Regions from separate parts of the Homo sapiens genome. Here all the other regions are linked to region 3. The links are contacts of gene promoters, found by promoter capture Hi-C in blood cells and fetal thymus (Javierre and others, 2016). All regions are on one chromosome and are shown on one strand. The core of a region is centred on a gene start or on the middle of the fragment in contact, and the rest is flanking DNA. Distances in the headings are between cores, read along the strand shown.

Evidence for each region. The method cuts DNA at HindIII sites, captures the fragments that hold promoters and counts their contacts. A CHiCAGO score of 5 or more calls a contact.
Region 1: a fragment that was not itself captured here is called in contact with the fragment with the promoter of KCNJ11 in region 3 in 1 of 17 cell types (naive CD4 T cells); the score reaches 5.5 in naive CD4 T cells.
Region 2: a fragment that was not itself captured here is called in contact with the fragment with the promoter of KCNJ11 in region 3 in 2 of 17 cell types (activated CD4 T cells and naive CD8 T cells); the score reaches 6.5 in activated CD4 T cells.

The regions. Positions count from the first base shown.
Region 1 is chr11:16,782,450-16,787,481 of GRCh38, forward strand. PLEKHA7 (pleckstrin homology domain containing A7) reads right to left here. Exons shown (of 27, transcript NM_001329630.2): 24 at 3,780-3,938; 25 at 1,251-1,384; 26 at 305-447. Among named protein-coding and RNA genes, the nearest start is that of C11orf58, 46 kb to the left of the region's middle. RefSeq lists an enhancer at 1-829. The HindIII fragment of the contact is 2,382 bases long and covers 2,254-4,635 here.
Region 2 is chr11:16,732,405-16,736,815 of GRCh38, forward strand. It overlaps a transcript of SOX6 not described here. Among named protein-coding and RNA genes, the nearest start is that of C11orf58, 4.0 kb to the right of the region's middle. The HindIII fragment of the contact is 239 bases long and covers 2,147-2,385 here.
Region 3 is chr11:17,387,409-17,391,791 of GRCh38, forward strand. KCNJ11 (potassium inwardly rectifying channel subfamily J member 11) reads right to left here and starts at 1,251. Exons shown (of 1, transcript NM_000525.4): 1 at 1-1,251. The coding sequence starts at 683. RefSeq lists an enhancer at 1-433 and silencers at 1,642-2,151, 2,232-2,331. The HindIII fragment of the contact is 14,360 bases long and covers 1-4,383 here.

The sequences.
Region 1 (5,032 bases), core at 2,195-4,694, 600 kb before region 3:
GCTCATAGTCTCAGAGGAAGTGGGGTAGCAGCACCACTCCTCCTGGGACCTTTTTCCCCAGACACTTCTGAGCTTCTGGGCCCCCTTGGTCTCCTCCACTGTGTGGCCTGCTCCACCTTCCCTTCCAAGTCCTGCTGTGCTCATGGGACAGGATGCCGAGTGGTCAGGGGAACACACCACTGACCCTCAACTACCATCCTTGACACCTGGTTTTCCACTGGCTCTGGAACAGGCCATGCTGGGCCCAAGCCCACAGGTGCAGTGGGGCAGGATCCAGGCCTTGGGGGCTGGGCCATGGCCTTACCTGCCACCTGCTTGCTACGCTGGGAGGCCTCGGAGGCCAGGGCGTAGGAGATGTTGATGATGCGCTCCTGCTCCTGCAGCTGCAAGTCCAGGTCAGCCACACTGTTCTGGTCCTGGCCTGAGGTCGGCTGTAGGTTGCACATGCTGTAGGAGGGTCGGAAGCAGACCATGGGCCCTCCTGCCCTGGGTAGCAGCCTCAGGAGTGGAGGGTCTCCCTGGCCTAGAGGTTCTCAACATTTTGAGGGGGATCAGACAAAAACTGTGGTACTTTCTCCCTAGACAAAGGTACATGCTTTTCCCCAAACACCCAAACGGTCCCAGCTTTGTTCCTCCTTTGGGAAGGCCACAGACCTTAAGTTCACGGCTCTAGCTGGAGGCTCTTATTAAATTCAGACATGAGATGGCTAAGCCAGCTCTGAAAGGGAGGCTTACAAACAAGATTAAATTTCTGAAGCTATTGAGGCTTAGGGGACAGTAAAGTCACTTCAGAGGACCCCAGGCCAGCATCCAGGGGAGTGGGCAATGCCTCTGGTGCCCTACGGACAAGGCTGGCACCCTTGGCTCTGATCCGCTGGTCTGCATGAGGGTGCACAGGCCCGAATGCTGGCAGGCCATCACTGGAGCTGATCTCCAACGGGGTCCACTTCACGGCCACGCTTGGCTCCATTCTCCACACTTGCTAGGGTCACTTGGGACACAGAATTGGGGGTGACAGCCCAGGACAAGAAGCCTCTACGAATGTTGCAGGTCTTTCCAGATGACCCAGGCAGGCTCCCTTGCTGATCTGCTGGCGATGTACCAGCCTGCCCCCTCCAATGAGTAGGGCTTACCTGAGACGAAGACCTGGCAAAACACGCACCCCAGCCAGCCCGGCCCAGGGCCCACATGGTAGAGACGCCACCTGGGGTCAGGGTGACCTGCCAACACTTGAGCAAGCGAGGGCTGACCTTGACCGGGCGAGGATGTTGCGGATCTTCTCGGCTTTGCGGTACCGCGCCTGCAGCTCCTCAAGGCTGGGTGGCTCTTCGGGATCTAGCTCCACGTAGCGCTCAGGGATTGACACCTTCTCTGGTTTGGACAGCTGGGGAGAGGCCAGGAGGTGGCAGAGGGAGAGGCTCAGATGTCTGGGTTTAGGACTCGCTTTCCCCACCTCTGTCCCCTCCCACCATGGGAAGCAAGCAGAGTCCACAGAGACTAAGTAACTTGCTAAGATCACAAAATTAGTCAGTTGTGGAATCCAGGTTTGAACCTGAGTCCGACTCCAAAGCTCATGTTCCTTCCACTCCACCAGCCAACCTCCTACAGGCTGGGGGAAGGGAAGGGCGAAATAACTAGACTACAAGCTCTCAGGATAAAAAATGATCATCCTTAATGCCACCGTCAAGGCCCTAAGTGATCTGACCCCTGATGACCTCTCCAGCCACTGATCAACCAGTCCCTCCAGTTCCCCGCCCACAGTGGGGCCTCTGTTCTGTCTGGGAAGCTCTTCCTTTTGTTCCCTTGACTCTCATCTTTTCAACCTCACTTTGAGGATCCTTCTCTGATCCCCTCCACCCCCTCACTTTCCATTCACCATTGTCTCCCTCTGTCTAATGCAGGGACTTAGTACTTAGTAGCCCTCCAACTAATTCTCCCTGAATGGATGGATAATGGATAAATGGATGATTGACAGGTGGGTGAATGAAAGGATGTGATGGTGCTTTCTGTCCCTAAAAAAGCTCTTCTGATCTAGACAGGAGGCAGCTATGCTGAATCTACTGCTGGCCAGAGGAAAATGGCCCCAAATTTCACCTCACCAGCATCTCCCGTGGACCTAGTGGCAAACTCGGCTTGGTGAAACCTTGCTTGGACTAAGAACACGAAAGGAAGCTTCTGCATGCTCCAGGAACTTTTTCCTCCCTGAATTACAAAAGCACACTAAAATGGGGTGGGTTGAAGCTCCTAAAAACAAGCTTAATCCAATCCCAGGGCAAATCAGGTCATGGATTTAAACCCACACGCAGCCCTTTCACTCTGTTGGAGATGGCAAGAAATAAGCTCTTCTCTGTTACTCCAATGAGGACAGATTTAGAGGAAGGAAGCAGATTACATTGTAGCAGGAGGAATTTAGGTTAGAGATAAGGAAGAACTTTTTCCCTGGGCTGGCAGGCAATCAGGACACTACAGAACACACTTCCCCTGCCAAGGCAGCATGTTGGGGCTTCTTTTGTGAATCTGAGAACGCACAGACCTTTGGCTGTTTCAGATGGCAAAGGAACAAGGTCTTGGGGCAGGGGACCAGCCTTGTTAACTCCTAGAGCCCCAGCAGACCCCAAAACTCAACAACTGTACAGGCATCTATCTTATCCACACACTGTTCCTTTGTTCCCAAAGACCAGAGGAACCCCTAACATACTGAGTCAGGTAGATACCATTGGCAAATCAGCTTGTGAATGGGCCTGGCACCACCTCTTAAGACAGCAGGAAGGCTCTGGAAGACACAGGTCCTCCTCAGTTCTCACTCTCCTATCACACAGACCTGGGGGAAAGTTTTATTGAGGTCTCGCCTCGATCCATCCTTCATGTGGTGAGAACATTTCCTCTTGTGCAGTTTCCAGGCAGGCCAAGTCCTTGTACAAATGCTTTTGGTACATTTATGGGTCACTGTGTGATTCATTCAACACAGTCAAAGATGCAGCAAAGATGTACCACGTACCCACTGTGTGCCAGGCCCTGTGCCAGGGACTAGGGATACAAAGGTGAACCAAGCAGCCATAGACGCTGCCCTGAAGAGCTTAGGAATAGCATCGACATAGGCCACAGGAGACAATCTACGTCTTGAAGACACTGAGTGTGTCATCCCGAGTTCCCTTTCTCTCCCCTTGGGTAGAGACATTTCCTGATGGGTAGAGATCCAGGAGTTACTTGCTCTCCTGGGCCTGCCCTGTCATGATGCATGTGAGCCACCAGAGGGCACCAGAAGAATTCAGACCAGAACTCTGCACTGTCTCCTAGCTTCTACCATGGCTGGAAATTTCGCCTGTGATTTTCAAACCTGCCCCCCATTTTCCCCTAGTCAGACTGCCCAAGTTGGCCTCACCAGCCAGTTGAAAAGCCAACCCCTGGTGTTGCAGGGAACATTTCCTAACAATAACAACTGCTGCTCACGTGCCTACTATGTGGCTTTGATCGCTAAACCTCCCAAGAACATGTGCAGTTACTTAATCCTCTTCACAACCCACTTCACTGTTGAGGAAACTGAAGCACAGAGAAGCTAAAATTGCAATTTGCCCTAAATTACAGAGAGTTTTGAACCTTCATCGAAACATCTGGCCTCCTTTCATTGCCTTAAGCTGCTATCCATCCATCCTCCTAGGCCACACTGAAGCTGAGCCATGTCCCTGTTCAGGATGATACCCCACAGTGGGAAGGTGGATCAGGCTGGGAACTTGAAGGCCATGTCTCCTGGAGGACATGAAGGAAGTGCCTGCCCTCACCTCTCTGCTGATGTCCAAGTCATAGTCTTGAGGCTCCAGGTCCAACTCAGTGACAGGCATGGCCTGCACTTTCAACCAGCCATTCTCCTCCTTGTCCTTTTTTTCCCCTTGCACGACCCGTTCCAGCAACTGCAGGTCAAAGTCCTGCTCACGCTTCCACTGGCAACAGAACAAGAGGTTAAACGTAGTCGCTTCCTGATTGCTGAAAGAGCCCGGCTGGTCACCTTTTTCCATGGGGTCCTTTGGAAGATGAACCTGTGATCCCCTTAGGGAAAAGCTGTATGTGCAATAGAGAATGAAGCTGCTGTCCCCTTCATATGGGCTGTTCCAGACTGCTAAGTGCTCTCTGATCTGGGTTCCCAGAGGTTTCAAACATACACCCTTGGGGCACAGGTCTAAGACTCATGACTTCAGGCTCACAGTGGTCCCCAGGGAAATAGAAGGCTCCCAGAGAGGGTGACCTCCAAACAACTTGGGACAGAGTTCTAGAGAAGGGATTTGTCCCTTCCACTCTCTACAGCTGGTTCAGGAGACATACGTCCCAGGCTCAGAATTAATGGAAAAACACGCCCTTCAAGGCCCTGCTAAGCAAGAAGAATAACCAAGGATCTTTCTATTGGGAATTTTCAACAAGATAACATTCGTAGGTGGGGGATCTCGCACTTACAGTAGGGCTGGGGAGGTACAAGCAAAAGCAGCTTGGAGCCAATGAGGCAGAAAAACTGCTGTATGAGACCCATCTATTTGAGATAGATGTTTTCTTTAAATTAGAAAAAAAAACTAAATCATATAAAATTGAAATGCTAAATCAAATGGAATGTTTCTAAGGCTGTTTCACAGTATCAACTTTGTAACAAGCTTCCCAAGAGGGAAAATCTAACCGATAAGATCCAACCATGACTGTCCAGCTCCGTGGTGACTTCCTGTTGACCCAGGACCTGCATCCTCACAGGCCTTTGACCGCTGAGCAGGTTGTTGAGAACAGAGCAGGCTCAAAGCCTCTCTTCCCCTGAGCAAAACCAAAGCAGATGCTTATCTATCCCAGGCCATCTTCTCTCTCCCATCCATCCACCTCAAAGCCCCAAATGGTCCTGATTGTCTTTGATGCCTCAAGTCCCTCCAGAACCCCAAACCCAGAGCCATATTCGCACATTTCACCCATTCATGCACAAGCTCTCAATGACTCCAAATCAATGTAATCACTCTTAGGTGATGGTTTCCAACTATTGTTGGAAAGGATTAGGCAACTGAAG
Region 2 (4,411 bases), core at 1,016-3,515, 650 kb before region 3:
CAGAACAGAGGCTTCTGAAATAATATCACACATCTACAACTATCTGATCTTTGACGAACCTGACACAAACAAGCAACGGGGAAAGGATTCCTTATTTACTAAATGGCTTTGGGAAAACTGGCTAGCCACATGCAGAAAACTGAAACTGGACCCCTTCCTTACACTTTATACAAAAATTAACTCAAGGTGGATTAAAGACTTACATGTAAGACCTAAAACCATAAAAACCCTAGATGAAAACCTAGGCAATACCATACAGAACATAAGCACAGGCAAAGACTTAATGACTAAAACACCAAAAACAATGGCAACAAAAGCCAAAACTGACAAATAGGATCTAATTAAACTAAAGAGCTTCTGCACAGCAAAAGAAACTATCATTGCAGTGAACAGGCAACCTACAGAATGGGAGAAAAATTTTTGCAATCTATCCATCTGACAAAGTGCTAATATCCAGAATCTGCACAGAACTTAAAACAAATTTACAAGAAAAAAACAACCCCATCAAAAAGTGGGTGAAGGATATGAACAGACACTTCTCAAAAGAAGACACTTATGCAGCCAACAAACATGAGAAAAAGCTCACCATCACTAGTCATTAGAGAAATGCAAATCAAAACTACAATCATCTCACACCAGTTAGAAGGGCAATCATTAAAAAGTCAAGAAACAACAGATGCTGGATAGAATGTGGAGAAATAGGAACGCTTTTACACTGTTGGTGAGAATGTGAATTAGTTCAACCATTGTGGAAGACAGTGTGACAATTCCTCAAGGATCTAGAACAAGAAATGCCATTTGGCCCAGAAATCCCATTACTGGGTATACACCCAAAGGATTATAAATCATTGTACTTTAAAGACAGATGCACATGTATGTTTATTGGAGCACTGTTCACAATAGCAAAGACTTGGAACCAACCCAAATACCCATCAATGATAGACTGGATAAAGAAAATGTGGCACATATACACCATGGAATACTATGCAGTCATAAAAAAGGATGAGTTCAGGTCCTTTGCAGGGACATGGATAAAGCTGGAAACCATGAGTCTCAGCAAACCATCACAAGAATAGAAAAACCAAACACGACATGTTCCCACTCATAAGCGGCAGTTGAACAATGAGAACACATGGACACAGGGAGGGGAATATCACATACCGGGGCCTGTTGGGGGTGGGGGGCTAGGGGAGGGATAGCATTATGAGAAATACCTAATGCAGATGATGGGTTGATGGGTGCAGCAAACCATCATGGCACGTATATACCTATGTAACAAACCTTCATGTTCTGCACATGTATCCCAGAACTTAAAGTATAAAAAAAAAAAAAAAAAAAAGGGCCAGGCACGGTGGCTCACGTCTGTAATCCCAGCACTTTGGGAGGCCGAGGCGGGTGGATCACAGGGTCAGGAGAGCGAGACCATCCTGGATAATACGGTGAAACCCCATCTCTACTAAAAATACAAAAAAATTAGCCGGGCATGGTGGCAGGCACCTGTAGTCCCAGCTACTCAGGAGGCTGAGGCAGGAGAATGGCATGAACCTGGAAGGCAGAGCCTGCAGTGACCCAAGATCGTGCCACTGCACTCTAGCCTGGGTGACAGAGCGAGACTTTGTCTCAAAAAAAAAAAAAAAAAAAGAAGATATACATCAACAACAATTTTATTGAAGCAATTTTAAGCAATACATTTTTCATTTCCCTTTTCATTCCTTTTTCATTTAAGTTCCTAGGTATGTGTAAAATAATCAAGTTAATATTTATAGTGCCACATTTTAAATCACAGTAGCACTCTGACAAATCTGCCTGCCCAATGGACAGAATGGGAGTTACCCAATCATCAACCATCATCAACCACAAATATGTATTTATTTATACCTTGTTTTCAAGATTCTGTGTTAGACCCTAGAGTTGCATTTATATTATGCCTTTAAAATCAGCTTCTAAATGGGCTTCATCTCATAGTCCACCACAGTGGAATAATGCATTTTTCACATTTTTTCCCTTTGCTTCAATGACACTAACCTCTCCTTCTTCTAGTTCTATGTCTACCTTCTAACCTCAGGCTCTTCTTCCTCATTCTATCCTTAAATCTTCTCCTTCTTGTTCTTTTCCAAGTATCTCTCTTCTAGGCACTCACTAGGTAAGCTTAGTTACTCTCCTTGTTGACCCACCACCTCTAGATGGGTGATTTCTAAGTTTATTGCTCTCTCCTAACTTTGAAGCCCATATTTTTAACAGTTCCACTTGGTGTCCTACTAATACTTTAACATGTCTAAAATCAAAGTCATCCTACCACATAAACTTGCTCCTCTCTAACCTCACCGATTCATATATTAAAACAACAAATATCTATTGAGTGATAGTTTATATGTCATGGTGCTAAGCTTAGATCCTACCCAAAAGCAGCTGAGAGTCTAGAACAGTCAACAAGACTAGTATCTTTGTTCAATACCTTTATTATAGCACTTATTTTTGTTGTGGTGGGCTAATCAAGATAAGTTAAAGATAATAGTAGAAAATAAGACTGGAATGGATTATTGAGATCAGAATATCGACCTTATTCTGACCTCAAGAACTGAATTCTTATTTTAATTATAGGCTTAATTCTATCAACTTAATTCTGTATAAAATGGGGAGCTCCAAGAAGTTTTTGAGCAGTAGAATCTCTACATTCCATTTTCAGAGGCTGAATCTGCCTAGAATGCATAAAATGAATTTAAATGGAGAAGTATTAGAAAACAGGTCACACAGATCTATGGAAGAGATTATCTTAATCTGAACCCATATAGTGAGAGAGTTAAACTCAAGGCTTTTCACAGCCCGGCTTTGATCAGCCTATAGAATTTTGTCTCAGAATACAATACTTTTAGGCTTATCAGGTTTCAGCACACTGGACACTAACCATCACTGAATATATGCCCCATCCTGCCCAAACTGTTTTTTCAAGGCCTAGCTCAAAAACTTTTGGGAAATAATTTTCCAATTTCCCTCAGCCAAAATGAACTGTTCTACAGCATTTTATTTGTAATTTACTGATGCCATTTAATCATTCTCCTGCCAAGCTGTAAACTCTTTGCAGTAAAGGATTATGCATTATTCACTCTGGTTTTCCTCAAACTTGGCACACTTCCTGACATATATGAAGCATCTTATTTAATGTTGGGTTATATTGGCACAGTGGAAAGTGCACTGGCTTTTGGAATTAGACTTAAGGACTGAATCATTCACTAGCTACATTATTTTAAGCAAGTATTTAACTTTTCTTAAGTTTAATTACCTATAAAATTCCCTACTTCTTGCAAATTATTGTGAAACTTTGAGGTCAATTGTAAAAATCACCTATAAAAAGCACCTAGCAAAGTATATGGTACATGGTGGGTATTTAATAAATGGTAACTGTAATTAAGGCCCTAGGAATTTTTTTTTTTAGTCTCAAGTGAAACAGCAGATTTTTTGTACACAGCATAATCTTCAAAGCCTTTATTTCCTCTTCAGTTTTAACTATGGTCAATCATGACTATCCCTGGTTGAGAGCACGTACTCGACAAACATCTGTGACTGCCCACTACATGCTAAATGTTGGGAAAATTTAAAAAAATGTAAAGTTCTCAGTGACAGGGCCTCCTCTCCTTGTCTTTACTACCCAAGAAAGAAGAACATTGCTGAGTTTCTAGGCCTCATATAAGATACCACTCTGGTACTATATAATTTCATCCTTCCTATATTAATTCAGAAACATTTATTAACTACCGTGTGGCAGGCATTGCGCCAGAAACAAAAATGCAGATGCAACAGTCCCAATTCTGAAGGAGGTATTTCATTGTTTCACTCATGATAGTGTATCTTTGTTTTTACAATACAAGAAAGAGGAGCATTACTGAGTTTCTGTGGCATATATGCATTCTATTACACTGTATAATTTCATCCTTACCTATAGCCTTCTGTATATGAAACTGAGTAAAATCTGATAAAATGTCCCAGTCTTTAGTATTTCCTATGTTACTTTTTCGTTTGTGATCTTGTTTCACAGTAACTTGAAGATTTACCATCCAGGTGCCAACAATTCTGGTGAAGAAATAAAAGACATGTTGCTAGCTCATTAAAGTTTTCTGGACTTTCACCAACTAGTAAAATTAAAATTATATAGTAACTACTATTCTTATTGACAATCCTTTCTTATTTCAGAAATCTTTTAGCAGTCTAAAGTACCTATTCAGCCATCTTATTTGTTTTGGTAATATAGCTAATAGTTCTAAATCACCATTTGTCAAACCCATTAGAGGTGAACTGTAGTCGAAACTGCAAAACTCTGTAACTTAAATGTAATTTCATTGTAACTAATAGAACCTAAGTAGAATTATGTAGTAGTGAAAATATTTTAATTCTAGCAAAAAGCAATCAACCACTT
Region 3 (4,383 bases), core at 1-2,500:
CCCTCGGGGCTGGTGGTCTTGCGTACCACCTGCATGTGGATGGTGGCGCTGATGATCATGCTCTTGCGGAGGTCACCCACACGTAGCATGAAGCAGAGGCGGCCGTGGCGCAGGGCGATCACCGCATGCTTGCTGAAGATGAGGGTCTCAGCCCTGCGGTGGGCTTGGGCAGTCTTCATGAAGATGCAGCCAAGCATGATGGCGTTGATCATGAGCCCCACGATGTTCTGCACGATGAGGATCAGGATGGCCAGTGGGCACTCCTCAGTCACCATGCGCCCCCCAAAGCCAATAGTCACTTGGACCTCAATGGAGAAAAGGAAGGCAGACGAGAAGGAGTGGATGCTGGTGACACAGGGCTCAGCAGTGCCCTCGCTGGGGGCCAGGTCACCGTGGGCGAAGGCGATGAGCCACCAGGCCATGGCGAAGAGCAGCCAGCTGCACAGGAAGGACATGGTGAAGATGAGCAATGTGTGTGGCCACTTGAGGTCCACCAGCGTGGTGAACACGTCCTGCAGGAAGCGGCCCTGCTCCCGGATGTTCTTGTGGGCCACGTTGCAGTTGCCTTTCTTGGACACAAAGCGGGCCCTCCGCTGGCGGGCACGGTACCTGGGCTTGGCAGGGTCCTCTGCCAGGCGTGTCAGCACGTATTCCTCGGGGATGATGCCCTTGCGGGACAGCATGGCTCCGGTGACCCCCAGGGAGGGGCTTCCCCCATCGGAGGCACCCCTCGGACGTGGCCTAGGGCCTCACTGCAGAGTCCTCTCGGTGGGCACCTTCTCACCCTGGGGCTGCACTCAGCCTGTGCTGGCCTCACTTCTGAGATAACTCCCCACCAGACTCTTCCTTACCTCCACCTGGGTCCCACTTCACTTCTTAATACCAGCCTCAGGCCGGGCGCGGTGGCTCACGCCTGTAATCCCAGTACGTTGGGAGGCTGAGGAGGGCAGATCACTAGGTCAGGAGTTCGAGACCAGCCTGACCAACATGGTGAAACCCCATCTCTACTAAAAATACAAAAGTTAGCCGGGCATGGTGGTGCGCACCTGTAATCCCAGCTACTCAGGAAGCTGAGGCAGGAGAATCGCTTGAACCCGAGAGGCGGAGGTTGCAGTGAGCCAAGATCACGCCACTGCACTCCAGCCTGGGCGACAGAGCGAGACTCCGTCTCAAAAACAAAAAACAAAACAAAAAAAACAGCCTCACCCTTGAGCCCACCTGCCTGGCGCCTAGGGAGCCCCCAACCCTGCCGGCTCTCCACCTGGCCCTGCGTCCTCCCCCAGCTTCCCCCACCAGCTGACCACCCCTGGGCCTCCCGCTAAGAGCCCTTCTCCCCGCCCAGCCTGCCTTCCCAGCCCAGCTCAGAACTTAACACCTCCGGATCTCTCCCACTAACCGGACCTCACCCCCACCTCCGGGTCTCCCGCCTCACCTGTCTGGCCTTCGGGCTCCCAGGCTCCAGCTCAGGTCCTGGCCACCCCCGCCCCGTCTCTCCTCCAGGTGCGCCCCCTATGTCCTACTCCACCCCTCCCGGAGCGCCCCCGCCGCTTTCCGGATCCCCCTCCAGCTCTCGTCCTCTCTGTCTCCTTGGGATCCTGCGTTCTCTGGAGTCACCACCCCACCCGGCTCAACCGCGGCTCCCCGGACCTGCGCGCGACCCGGCGGGGCTGACTCCGAGTCGCGGCCTCCCGGTCCCTGCCGCCCGCCCGCGCCGCGGCTCCCGCTCCGCGCCGGGTCCCGGCCCCGCCCGCCGCCGCCGCTGCACCTGCTCCTGCTCCTCACGCCACGGCCGTCGCCTCCCCGCCCCCTCCCGCCGCCCGGGCGCTCGCGGCTGGCCGTCCTCCCGTCTGTCTGTCCGTCCGTGGGTCCGCGGAGACCGACCTGGGCTAGGCAGGGGTCTAGGACGGCGGGAGGGGGGCGCACGAGGAGAGGAACGGGGCCGGGGACCGCCAGGGGGAGCCCGACCTGCACCGGAGCGCAGGGGGCGGGGCCGGAGCAAGCCCCCGCCCCTCCCGCGCCCCTCCCCGCCCCCGCCCTCCACCTCCCCTCCCGGGACTCACAACCCGGCCTTTGGAGTTTTTCTGATCCGCGGAACCCAGAGGTTCCTCCTGCCCACGCTCTACGAAAGTGGGGGGCTGGGAGGGATCTGTGACCCGCCCTCCCAGTCTGGGGCCGCCGCCCTGTCGCCCTGGCTCCCCTCCCCCAATATCCCCATCCGTATTTGGGTCAGTAATCCGCCTCTCGGCCGCGCCAGGTTTGCAGGTTCCCCGGGAAAGGAGGCGCTGAGAGGCGGCGCCACCAATCCCAGGGCTGGCGGAAATTAGGCGGTCCGAGGACTTCTCAACCTGCAGCTGCTTCTCTTTGGGGGATGCTCTTAATCTTAGTCTTGAATCCTTTGACAATCTGATGGAAGCTCAGACTCCCTCTCATTAAAAAAAAAAAAAAAAAAAAAAAAAAAAAAGGCCTCGGCAGGAAAGGAGCACAGTTTAACACCTGCTACTGCTGTGGGGCAGCCTGGGCGGCTCCATCTTCTCAGCCATTCCGGCCCTACTTTAAAGAAGGTTTGAGCCGAGGCCACTTGCTTTACACTTTCTCACACCTGTCACCTGACTTCTTCCACGTTAGGTCATGGGTGGTATTTAGGCCTGAACAGTGTGTTAGGGCTGCCTCGGGCACTGGGGGACCCAGGCTCTTGGTCCCGGCATGGTGGTGTTTCTGTTCAGGCATCAGCCTGAGGCTGCCCTGTGGCATGGACCCGGGTTCTCAGCTGGGAGGGAAAGCCTGCTAGATCTCTGTTGTTGGAACAGTAACGGCTTTACCGCTGTCTGTGGCTCAGATCCTTATGGAAGAACCCCTGACCATCTGCGGCCATTTTGTTGGAGTGGGGGCTTGAGACAGGGTCTGGAAAAGGCAGTGTGGCTGTGGGCCACAGTGGGGGCAAGATATGCATTTTATATTGGATTTTCCTTTCTCTCCCTACCCACCTGCAGGCAGAGCGAACACCGCTACAAAGGATGGGTGTGATCATGGGCTATATTAACAAAGATGCAGTGTCTAGGAAGGGGAGGGTAAAATGAGATGAGCAGAGTGGGAAGCTCAAGGAGACAGGGTTACATGGGGAAATCTCTGAGGCAACTACAACTGTCCAGCCATCAGAAAAGGAAAGTCCCCCAGGGATTTGGGCACTATTGCAGAAACACCTGGCCTTGAAGGAGGATGAACTAGTAGTTTTTTGTGGCCCAAAGGGTAGAACCAGGACACTAAGTGGAACAGAGGCAGGCTTTGGTTTCACATATGCAAGAGTCAGTTCTAATAACAATAACCAGAGATGAGCCACATCTGTGGGGTACCCAAATCAAGTCGGTGGGCCATGAGGGATGTTATACAGGGATTTTGGGCCAGGATGACCTTGGGCATCCCTGCAACACCTCACTGTGGGCCCAGCCCTGCCCCTGCTACTTCCCTTCAATCTGTTGAGGTGGGGTGGCTTTGGAGCAGTGGTAGGCTTGTGGAGTCCTCTTTCAGTTCCCCGGCTCTGCTCTTGGGAGATCTCACAGTGGAGGAAGCTGCTGGGCCCCTGGGGAAATCTCAGAGCTGGAAAGGCTGGGTTCTGCCTCCTGGTGCAGCCTTGAGGCCTTACCTCCCTCCCTGCTGCTCACCCTTCTGAGAGGCTGAGTCTCCCACCTGAAAGGCTCAGCCTCCCCTTTTGCTCCATCCTGCACTTGCTTATAGTCATCTCCACCAAATACTGAACTTGTCAAGTCGCTTTCTTGCTCAAAACCCTTCTCCCTTTTTGTCCATGGGCATAGCCCACACTCCTTGCTCTGGCATTCAGGGCTCTCTGATATGATGCCCTCCCCACTGCTGTAATCTCTCTCCCACCTCCCTGATCAACCAACACTCTTAACACACTTCCACCATCACTCCTTAGCTCCTGCTGTCCCTACCTGCCACCCCAACCCTTTCTCTGACTTTCTGCCTAACCAATCCCTATCCCCCACAATATTTAACTCAAATTTTGTCTTTTCCAGGCAGGCTGCCAGGCTTTACAGAGCTCTTCCTTTCCGAGCTTCTCTGGCTCCTGGAACATCCACAGGGGTCTGCACTGGACCTGCCTCCGATAACTGGTGGGCTTTTCTTATGTTGTGCCTCTATGATCCCCTTGCAGCCAAGAGGATGCAGGTTCAAGACTCTTAGGTCTGCACCTCAGGGCTTGGTGCAGCCAGTACTGCAGATGATATGCAAATGATCATAAAATGAGATGTAAATGAGCACCTGCCATTTCTTGGCCAAGGGCAGGTGTGCACTCTTGTTTCGTGATGCAGAGGAAGTCAGGACAGCTGCTGTTTTAGTCTCCCTGGTGTCTGGGCTCCAGCGTCTCCC